2 separate regions of the Homo sapiens genome follow, and region 2 is linked to region 1. The links are contacts of gene promoters, found by promoter capture Hi-C in human tissues and cell types (Jung and others, 2019). All regions are on one chromosome and are shown on one strand. Each heading gives the region's core, a stretch centred on a gene start or on the middle of the fragment in contact. The rest is flanking DNA. Distances are from core to core; before and after follow the strand shown.

What was found. The method cuts DNA at HindIII sites, captures the fragments that hold promoters and counts their contacts. A contact is called where the count stands out against the background at its distance.
Region 2: a fragment that was not itself captured here is called in contact with the fragment with the promoter of DGCR2 in region 1 in 1 of the 25 tissues and cell types used here (spleen).

Annotation. Positions count from the first base shown.
Region 1 is chr22:19,120,342-19,124,718 of GRCh38, reverse strand. It overlaps DGCR2 (DiGeorge syndrome critical region gene 2), which reads left to right and starts at 2,307. Exons shown (of 10, transcript NM_005137.3): 1 at 2,307-2,591. The coding sequence starts at 2,513. RefSeq lists silencers at 1,983-2,422, 2,543-2,662 and an enhancer at 2,447-2,948. The HindIII fragment of the contact is 22,645 bases long and covers 1-4,377 here.
Region 2 is chr22:19,284,813-19,289,189 of GRCh38, reverse strand. All of the region lies in intron 1 of CLTCL1 (clathrin heavy chain like 1), which reads left to right. Among named protein-coding and RNA genes, the nearest start is that of CLTCL1, 4.7 kb to the left of the region's middle. The HindIII fragment of the contact is 5,026 bases long and covers 1-4,377 here.

The sequences.
Region 1 (4,377 bases), core at 1,058-3,557:
CAGTGGAGCCCCTCTGCTGTGCCAGGCTCTGTGTCCAGCACTTGTTCCGGGCTATGCCCTAGGGGAGTAGGAGTCACATGACTATCCTAGCCTTGGATTTGACTTTGGCCTCATCCACCTAGAGGGAGTGAGCACCCCTTTCTCACAGGAGCCAAGTGGAACCCTGGGCCCCTCAGGATGACTTGGTAGGGCGGGCTGGTTGTCACTCATGTTGGGTTGGGTCCCCACCTGCCGTGGCCCTTCCCCCTTTTCTCTGCTCCTTCACCTTCTTCCCTAACGCTGACTGCCCACTGCCAGGCCTTTGTGCATTCTTGGTTCTCCTCCTTCCAGACAGCCTCCTTCTCCTTCCCGCTGGGGACACCCCAACTACTGTCTCCTGGAAACCAAAAATAAAACTCTAACCCCCCAGCCATCTGAATGGACCCCTCCTCTCCACCAAGGGCATTCCAAACTTAACCTGAAAAACTATTTCAGGCCGTGATAGGAAGTGGGAGTCAGGCCTCATTATCCCTCCTCCCTTCAGGTTTCAGGCACAGCTAAGCAGTGTAACATCGACACAGAGACTTGAAGACTGACAACAGACTCTGTGGCAGTAAGATACCAGCATGACAGCAGGCCCGGAAGGAAACACATATTTTACTGCAAAACAGGTTTCTTTCACATATTTTGAAGTCGCTCTGCAAAGCTGTTTTTTGTGGGGAAAATCTACATTCTGTAGAGAATCCCTATCCCTTTCAAGGTCTTTTCTCCTGAGAGAATTAACTAGAGTCTGGCACCTTTTATTTATTTTTCCTTTTTTTTTTCCTTTTTTTTTTTTTTTTTTTTGAGACAGAGTCTTACTCTGTTGCCCAGGCTGGAGTGCAGTGGCATGATCTTGGCTCACTGCAACCTCTGCCTCCCCGGTTCAAGCGATTCTCCTGCCATCAGCCTCCTGAGTAGCTGGGATTACAGGCGTGTGCCACCACGCCTGGGTAACTTTTGTATTTTTAGTAGAGATGTGGTTTCACCATGTTGGCCAGGCTGATCTTGAACTCCTGACCTCAGGTGATCCGCCCGCCTTGGCCTCCCAAAGTGCTGGGATGACAGGCGTGAGCCACCACACCCGGCAGAGTCTGGCACTTTTTAATAAGAAACATTAACAGTCTTTTCTCTGTGAAGCCTGATACCTGGAGGCTTCATTTGCCTAAGAAACTTGGTCTCCACAACCCCTTAATGTAGACAGTCCCTTTTATTGATTCCAGGTCTTTAGATAAACTCTTTGAACCAACTGCCAATCCGCATGACCTAGAAGCCCCCCTCCACCCCCCACTTTCAAGTTGTCCCGCCTTTTCCGACTGAACCAATGTATATCTTACATGTGCTGATTGATGTCTTGTCTCCCTAAAATGTATAAAACCAAGCTGTGGCCCTACCCCCTTGGGCACTTGTCAGGATCTCCTGGGGCTGTGTCCCAGGCTATTGGTCACATATTGGCTCAGAAGAAATGTCTTCAAATATTTTACAGAGTTGGACTCTTCGCCGACACTGCCCTCCAAGGTTCACCCTGTTGGTGATGACGGGAGAAGTGGCACTTGGAGCACTGTTCGCAGGGGCGCTGAGCCTCCTCTCTGCCTAGCTTTCTTTCCTGCACATGTGGCCTTCCCCTAGCCATTGTGTAGGCAGGTCCTCCAGGGAGCCGGCTTCGCTGCAGTCTCCAGGACCTGGCCTTCCCGGTCTCTCTTTGCCTGACACTCTCTTAGGCCATTCCTGTTCCTCTTTCCCCACCCTCAGAACCGGCAGGCCCTCCCTCCTCCACAGCGGTTCGGCCTTAAAAAGACCCCTTTGGGGCGCACTTTTGGGCTGCTCACGGGACCTGAGCTTGCAGGTGTGAAGACCCTTGGAGTCCCAGCCAGGTTCCCACTTCGTTCTCTCCGCTCCCCACCCGCGCGACCCCTCGGCGCCCCGCCCCATGCCCCGCGCCTTTCGATGTCCATCCTTGCCGTCCCGCGCCCGCCGTCCCTAACCGGCGTCCAGAGACCCTACTCCCTTCGGTGGCCCCGCCGCTCAGGCCCCGGCCCCGGCCCTGCCTCTCTGCTTAACCAATGGCACGCCTCACTCCGTATGGTCCCGCCCTTCCCTTAGAGCCCGCCCCTCAGTCCCCGCCCTTAGGTCCCCGCCCTCCGCCGTCGCGACCTTAGGCCTCACCCTCTTCGGAGGGCTTTGGCTCTGGCCCCGCCCCCCATCTTGACGGTCATTGGCCCGCGCCTGCGTCGCGGGCGGGAGGCGGGGCGGGGCGGCGCGGCGCGGAGCCGAGCAGGACGGCCGCCATCTTGCGCGCAGCTGGAGTCGGTGCCTGAGGTTGCAGCCGAGAGTGTGCGCCAGCCCGCGGCCCAGCCGAAGCTCTTTCCCGCCGCCTCTCCGCGCCTCGCCCAGGTTCAGCTCCGCCTGACCCTCCGCTTGGCACGGTCCCCTGACCCTCAGTCCGGCCTGGTCCGGCCTTCCAGCCGCCCCGGGGACGATGAACGGAGGATAAATGGTGCCCAAGGCAGACAGCGGCGCCTTCCTGCTGCTCTTCCTGCTCGTGCTCACTGTCACCGAGCCGCTGCGGCCAGGTGCGCCGCGCGATGGGGGCGGTGTGGGGGCTGGGCGGCGAGCGGGGCCGGGGTCGCCCCGGGACCTCCTTTCACCCGCGGCGCCCTCCTGCAGGGGCCGCGCCTGGGGCAGGGGCGGGCGGGGCCTGGCTCGCGGGCCGCCTGGCACTCTCTGCGGACGCCTGCTGGAGCTTACCTGGGCTCGCGGCGCCTCGGACTTCGTGCAGCTCTGCTGTCCAGGATGTTGCCTCTGGGCCCTTCCCGGGAGCGGCGGCGGCCAGGAGCTACGCCACGGGCGCACCCTCTCGCCAGTCCAGCGTCGGAGTCGGGCTGGGGACAGTGGCTCTCAGGGGCACCTGGTTTCACAGACGTCCTCCCAGCAGTGGCCTAGTGCCAGCCTCTCAGTCCTGGAAACTCCTCGCCTGGACAGCGGTGGTTGTGGCTGTCATTCAGTGAGACGTTGCGCTAAGGAAGTCCTCAGGTCCCACCGGGCCTAGAGGAGGCACCAGGAGTCAGCCTAGCGTTGTGTGGCCGGCGCGAGCGTCCCGGGAGCAGAGACCTCGCCACTGTGCGGGGCCCTTAGCCGTGCTGCGTGTATGTGATGAATGAGTCCGTGCTTTGGAACTCCCCTCGGAGCTAGTGTGTTCTTAAGTCTGTGGTGGGGAATCAGAACCGTGGCAACCAGGAGACCCTTTTCTACCTATTTCGGTGTACCTCCCCTTGAACTGCACCAAAAAATCAAACTCCCTAAATGCAGGGCCGATGTATCCATCAGGCACAGGAATCCTGGTATCACTTGCCCACGGTACTTTTAGTAGCCTTCGAATGTTATTTTATTTTTTTTTAAAGTCAGCAGAAAAAAAATGAACTTTTAGGTCAAATAAAATGTTTTCGTATGTATATTAATACAGTCATCTTTATACTAATACAGTGAAAAAGCATGACTCTTAATATTTCTTAATGGAGGAAAGGTCCCATGAAGGCAGAAGTGCCAGGGCCATCTTCTCTGATGACCTGGGTGTGGGAGCACGGGGTGTGTGGCCCTCTCCTGTGCCCTAGCCAGGCTCCCAGCCCAGATACACCGCACCTCTTGGCTCTGCGCTTGTGTCATCTATGTGGAATGTCTGCCTCCTCCCTAGTGCCTGCCTGGTGGCCAAGGCCCTGACCGGTGCTCAACCTGGACAGATTCAGTGATGCTTCTCTGGTCTCCCCATGTAGAGCTAGTTGCTCACTGCTTTTGGCTGCTCTCTGGGCAGCGGGATGACTAGTTGTGGGGTGGCCTTGGTAAGAACAGAAGCCAGGAAAAGGGCTACCTGTGGAGGAGGGTATCATATAGGCTCTTGGAGGTCAGAACCAATGGGTTTGTGGATTCTTGTGATTAACTTCTTTAGAAAACATATATGTACGTGTAGAGAGGTAGAAGGTCACCGTTTTCTGATTCTTGAGTCCCAGTTTTGCAGATGAGGTCACCGGGCTCAGGTGAGGCCATATTATGCCTGGCTTCTTTGGGGTGCCTCTGGTTCCAGGCCCAGCATCTCCTGCCTGGGTGATAGAGGTGACTGACGTCCCCGACTCCTTTTTCCTTGCCAGCCTTTTCACATAGCCTGCCAACTGGCCAGCAGCAACTGAGAAAGTGCCTGTGGGTGCTTGCCCCCTGCCCATCCCTAGGGAATCCAAGTGACAAGAACAAGCCCCTCCTTTTAGGAGTGCCTGATGTGGAACAGAGGCCAGGTGTAAGTCACTTGTCACACTCCTGTGTGTTGAATACCCTGGAGTGTGGGGTCCCAGAGGTGGGTGGAGGTGGCCA
Region 2 (4,377 bases), core at 969-3,468, 160 kb before region 1:
CCAACATGGTGAAACCTCGTCTCTACTAAAAATACAGTATTAGCCGGGCGTGTTGGTACGCACCTGTAGTCCCAGCTAGTCAGGAGGCTGAGGCGGGAGAATCTCTTGAACCCGGGAGGCAGAGGTTGCAGTGAGCCAAAATCATGTCACTACTCTCCAGCCTGGGTAACAGACCGAGACTCCGTCTCAAAAAATAAGATGCGATGAGCTAGGTGAGATAAAGCCCATCACACCACACGCATCTTCTGTGATGTCCAGCCGCATTTGATGCTGCACTTTACTGCCTCCTGAGGGTCCTTTCTCTACTGTTTTTGGTTCCACAGTTTCCCAGGGTTTCTCCTTCCTCTCTGCCCACACCCACTGCCCCATGGGCGGCTCTTGTGCATGAGCTTGGAATCTGTCTTGAGCCCCTCTGCTTTTTCATTCAGGACATGCTGCTGGTGATGTTATGTATTCCCATAAGCTTGATGTTCCCAAGCCATCCGAGTGTTTTCGCAGTTTCACTGCTGTGTGTGTGTGAGGCAGTAGCAGGTCCTGGTTAAGAGCACAGACTGAGGCCAAACTGAAGGCACTGAATGTGGACTCAGGCACTTACTGGCTGTGTGATTTAGGGCAATGTTTGTAGCTTTTTTGTGCTTCTATATCTTCATCTATAAAATAAGGATAAAAGGTATACTTCTTATCTCACAAGGTAGTTGTGAGGTTTTTGAGTTAATAAATGTAAAGCATTAAACAATAACTGTTACATAATACAGTAGTCCCGATTTACCCATGGGGAATATGTTCTAAGACCCCCAGAGGATGCCTGAAACTGCAGATTGTTCTGAACCCTTTATACACTTTTTTTCCCTATGCATACATATGTATGATAAAGCTGAATTTATGTTAAGCACAGTAAGAGATTAACAATGATAACTAATAATAAAACAGAACAATAATAACAATATGCCAGCATCACTACTGTTGGACTTTGGGGCCATTATTAAGTAAATTAAGGGTTACTTGAACACAAACTCTGTGATGCTGCAACAGTCAACCTGGTAACTGACCGCTACTAAGTGACTAATGGGCTGGCAATGTCTACAGCGTGGATATGCTGGGCAGAGGAGGGATAATTCACGTCCTGGGTGGGCTGGTGCAAGATTTCATCACTCTGCAGAATGGTATGCAATTTAAAACTTATGAATTGTTTATTTCTGGGGTCTTACATTTAATATTTTCAGACTATAGGTAACAGTGTGAAAAAAACCACGGATAAGAAGGGACTACTGTAAAGCACTGTGTCCTTGTGAGCTGTTGCTGCCATTGTGACAGCTGCCTACTGAAGAAGGCCAGGAAATGGTCAGCAGGTTCCTCAAACACAGTGTTCATAAATGGGGTTCCCTTTCTCCCCAGATGTGTATCTTGTCCAGTGTCCAGCCAGGAGCCTGGGATGTGTTTTCCCCATCCTGTTGTCCCTTTCTCCTGTTTACTTTTGGCATCGTTCTGCCACTGTCATCATGACTACCGTTTCCCTAAACTATGCCATCCCTCCCCACCTTGATGGTCATGCTAGCTTTGTCCTTCTACTTCTAGTCTTGCCCTCCTGTGATCCATTCTCCAGCACACAGGCAACATGATCTCCAAGGATGAGCATCTGCTTAAAGTCCTTCAGGGAGTGGTTTCGTGTTTCCTCTGGCATGAAAAGACTGATCCCCACGTGCTCTTTCCTGTTCTTCCCAGCCCAACACCTGCTCAACTCTGCTGCCGCTCCCTTTGTGTCCTTGCCAAAACACATTCTCCTCTCACCCCTCTTTACTCACTGACTCCTACTGAGCCTTCTGGTATCTGTGGAAATGACGCTGTCTCTGGAAGCTCTCCCTGATTTGTCAGTTAGGAGTTCTTCCTCTGTGCCTCTTTGGGGTTCCTCTTATAATGACACTCTTCCCAGGGTACTGTAGCTGTTCATTTTCTCTGCTGGATTGTGAGCTCAGGGAGCTACCATTTGAACTTTTTAGAAATATTCAAATGTGAGAGTTGGAAGGGTATTGCTGTTTGTAATATCTGAGGATGGGCTGAGCACTTAAGACATCTTGATTCAGAAGAGGAATGGCTGAATAGTTTGGTGACATAAAAATTTTCTTGAGCCCTAAGTAATTCCCCCCAGCTATATCAAAAAAGCAGCTCCAAGTTTGTAAGCTGTGAAATGTGTCATAGCTCAATACACAGAAAACGTAAACATGTTCCCTCAAAGTGTCTCTGAGGCGGTGTTTGAAACAGGTGTAGAGACCTTGAGCATTAGAATTGTAGGAGAAAGATGGTCAAGATCTTAATCAGTGCTTCTCTACCTAGGCTGCATGTGAGAATGGCCTGCAGCCTTAAACATATTTCTGCTGGATGTTAAATCCAAAGCTCTGAGTGGTGGAGATGGAGCTTTGGTATTCCTTCCCAGGTGAGTCTTACACACAGCCCAGGTGAAACAGCCTTCTACATGTTAGTCAATATTAATCATTAAGGAAAGAGGGGGGAAAGTAAAACTGTGAAGGTGTAGATTGAGCTTGAACTGAAAACAGTTCCCATCCACACACACCCGTGTGTGTCTGGAGAGGCTTCTGGGGGTCATGCTCCAAAAAGGGACACGTACCCATAGTAATCCAGTCCATATTTGGTTTATGTTGCCATTATGTAGCTATCTCATTTTGTGAAGTGGTTTTTGATGTACTAAGACAGCAGTTGGCTCATTGCATCCTAAAATTATTGCATCCCATGTAAAATGTCATTTTAAGATACCATGTAAACTGTTAAATTTTGCCTGTTGGCCTACCACTGCTTCTGGTATTGGAAATACATACTGGCCAGTTAGTTGCCTTCTGACTTGTTTATTTACAAAGCAAGGAGAGTAACCTGCCTCAGCCAGGGTGTCTGCGAGGGTGAGCCTTGTGGGAGTACCTACCGCTGTGGCATTGTGGGTGACCAAAGAGTAAATGAATTTGAATGGGGACTCTTTGGAAAAACAGATCTTCACCATAGAACATTTAAATGTTCAGAATGCCTAAGCTACACAAACCAGTGCTTTTTTAGTTGGTTGGGTTGAAAGAATTAAGTCCTAGGAGGATCTGAGTCAAGGTTCCTCTCTGCTGAGATATTTCTGTTGCAGGGGCTAGTCTGATGGGAATTAAAATCTTTCAGTTCAGCCTCTGTCTGTCTCTCCCCAGGGGAAACCACTATAAACGAAGCCACCATATCCTTCCAAAAATGTTCAAAAGAATCCTGCTTTAAATATGCTTCTGCCCTTTGCTTTTGTAACTTAACACACTGAAGATCCTCCCATAGGATCACAGACAGATCACTGCATCTATCTGACATGTTGTTTATCAGTATTCCCTAGGGTAGTAGTTGCTGGCACCCTGTCACCCCCTTCTCTAAGGGGGAATCTTTCTGCAATCTGTCTGATTTTTCCTTCCTTTGCTTCTTCACTGAGACTTTACTGAGTTTGCAGGCTCTTCTCCCACATTTTCTTCCACTTCTCTTGAGGCCTGCTGCTGGCCTCCATGCCAGAGAGATGACCATCACTCTTGGCAGGCTGAAGAAGGATGCCACAAAGCTGGGATAGCAAAGTTCAGTGATGAAATTAGAATCGGATATATCTTGACAGGCCAGAATCCAGCTAGTTGACATTTAACTGGGATAAATATAGAGTCTTGTGCACTGGTGTTAAAATAAAGAAAACCTGTAATAGTGTAATTTGAGAGAAGTTCTGTAAAGCATTATATAAATGTAGTTAACTATCCCTGAACTAACCTACTCCTGGAATGTAAGTTCTGGAAGAGACCTTAGTGTCAACATTCTTCATAGGCCCTCATTTACAGAGCTCCCTCTTTAGGCTAGGAAAGGCTCTTTGGTAAGTTTCTTTTTCTTTTTCTTTTTCTTTTTTTTAAGATGGAGTCTTGTTCTGTTGCCCAGGCTGGAGTGCAGTGGCACAATCTCGGCTCACTGCAACCTCTGCCTCCAGGGTTCACGCCATTCTCCTGCCTCAGCCTCCCGAGTAGCTGGGACTACAGGCACCCACCACCACGTCCAGCTAATTTTTTATATTTTTAGTAGAGACAGGGTTTCACCGTGTTAGCAAGGATGGTCTCGATCTCCTGACCTTGTGATCCGCCTGCCTCGGCCTCCCAAAGTGCTGGGATTACAGGCGTGAGCCACCGCGCCCAGCGTGTTTCAAATATAAAATGTGTTTTTTATTTTATTTTCTTGAGACAGAGTCTCGCTCTGTCCACCAGGCTGGAGTGCAGTGGCATGATCTCAGCTCACTGCAGCCTCTGCCTCCCCGGTTCAAGCGATTCTCCTGGCTTCAGCCTCCTGAGTAGCTCGGACTACAGGTGCGTGCCACCATGC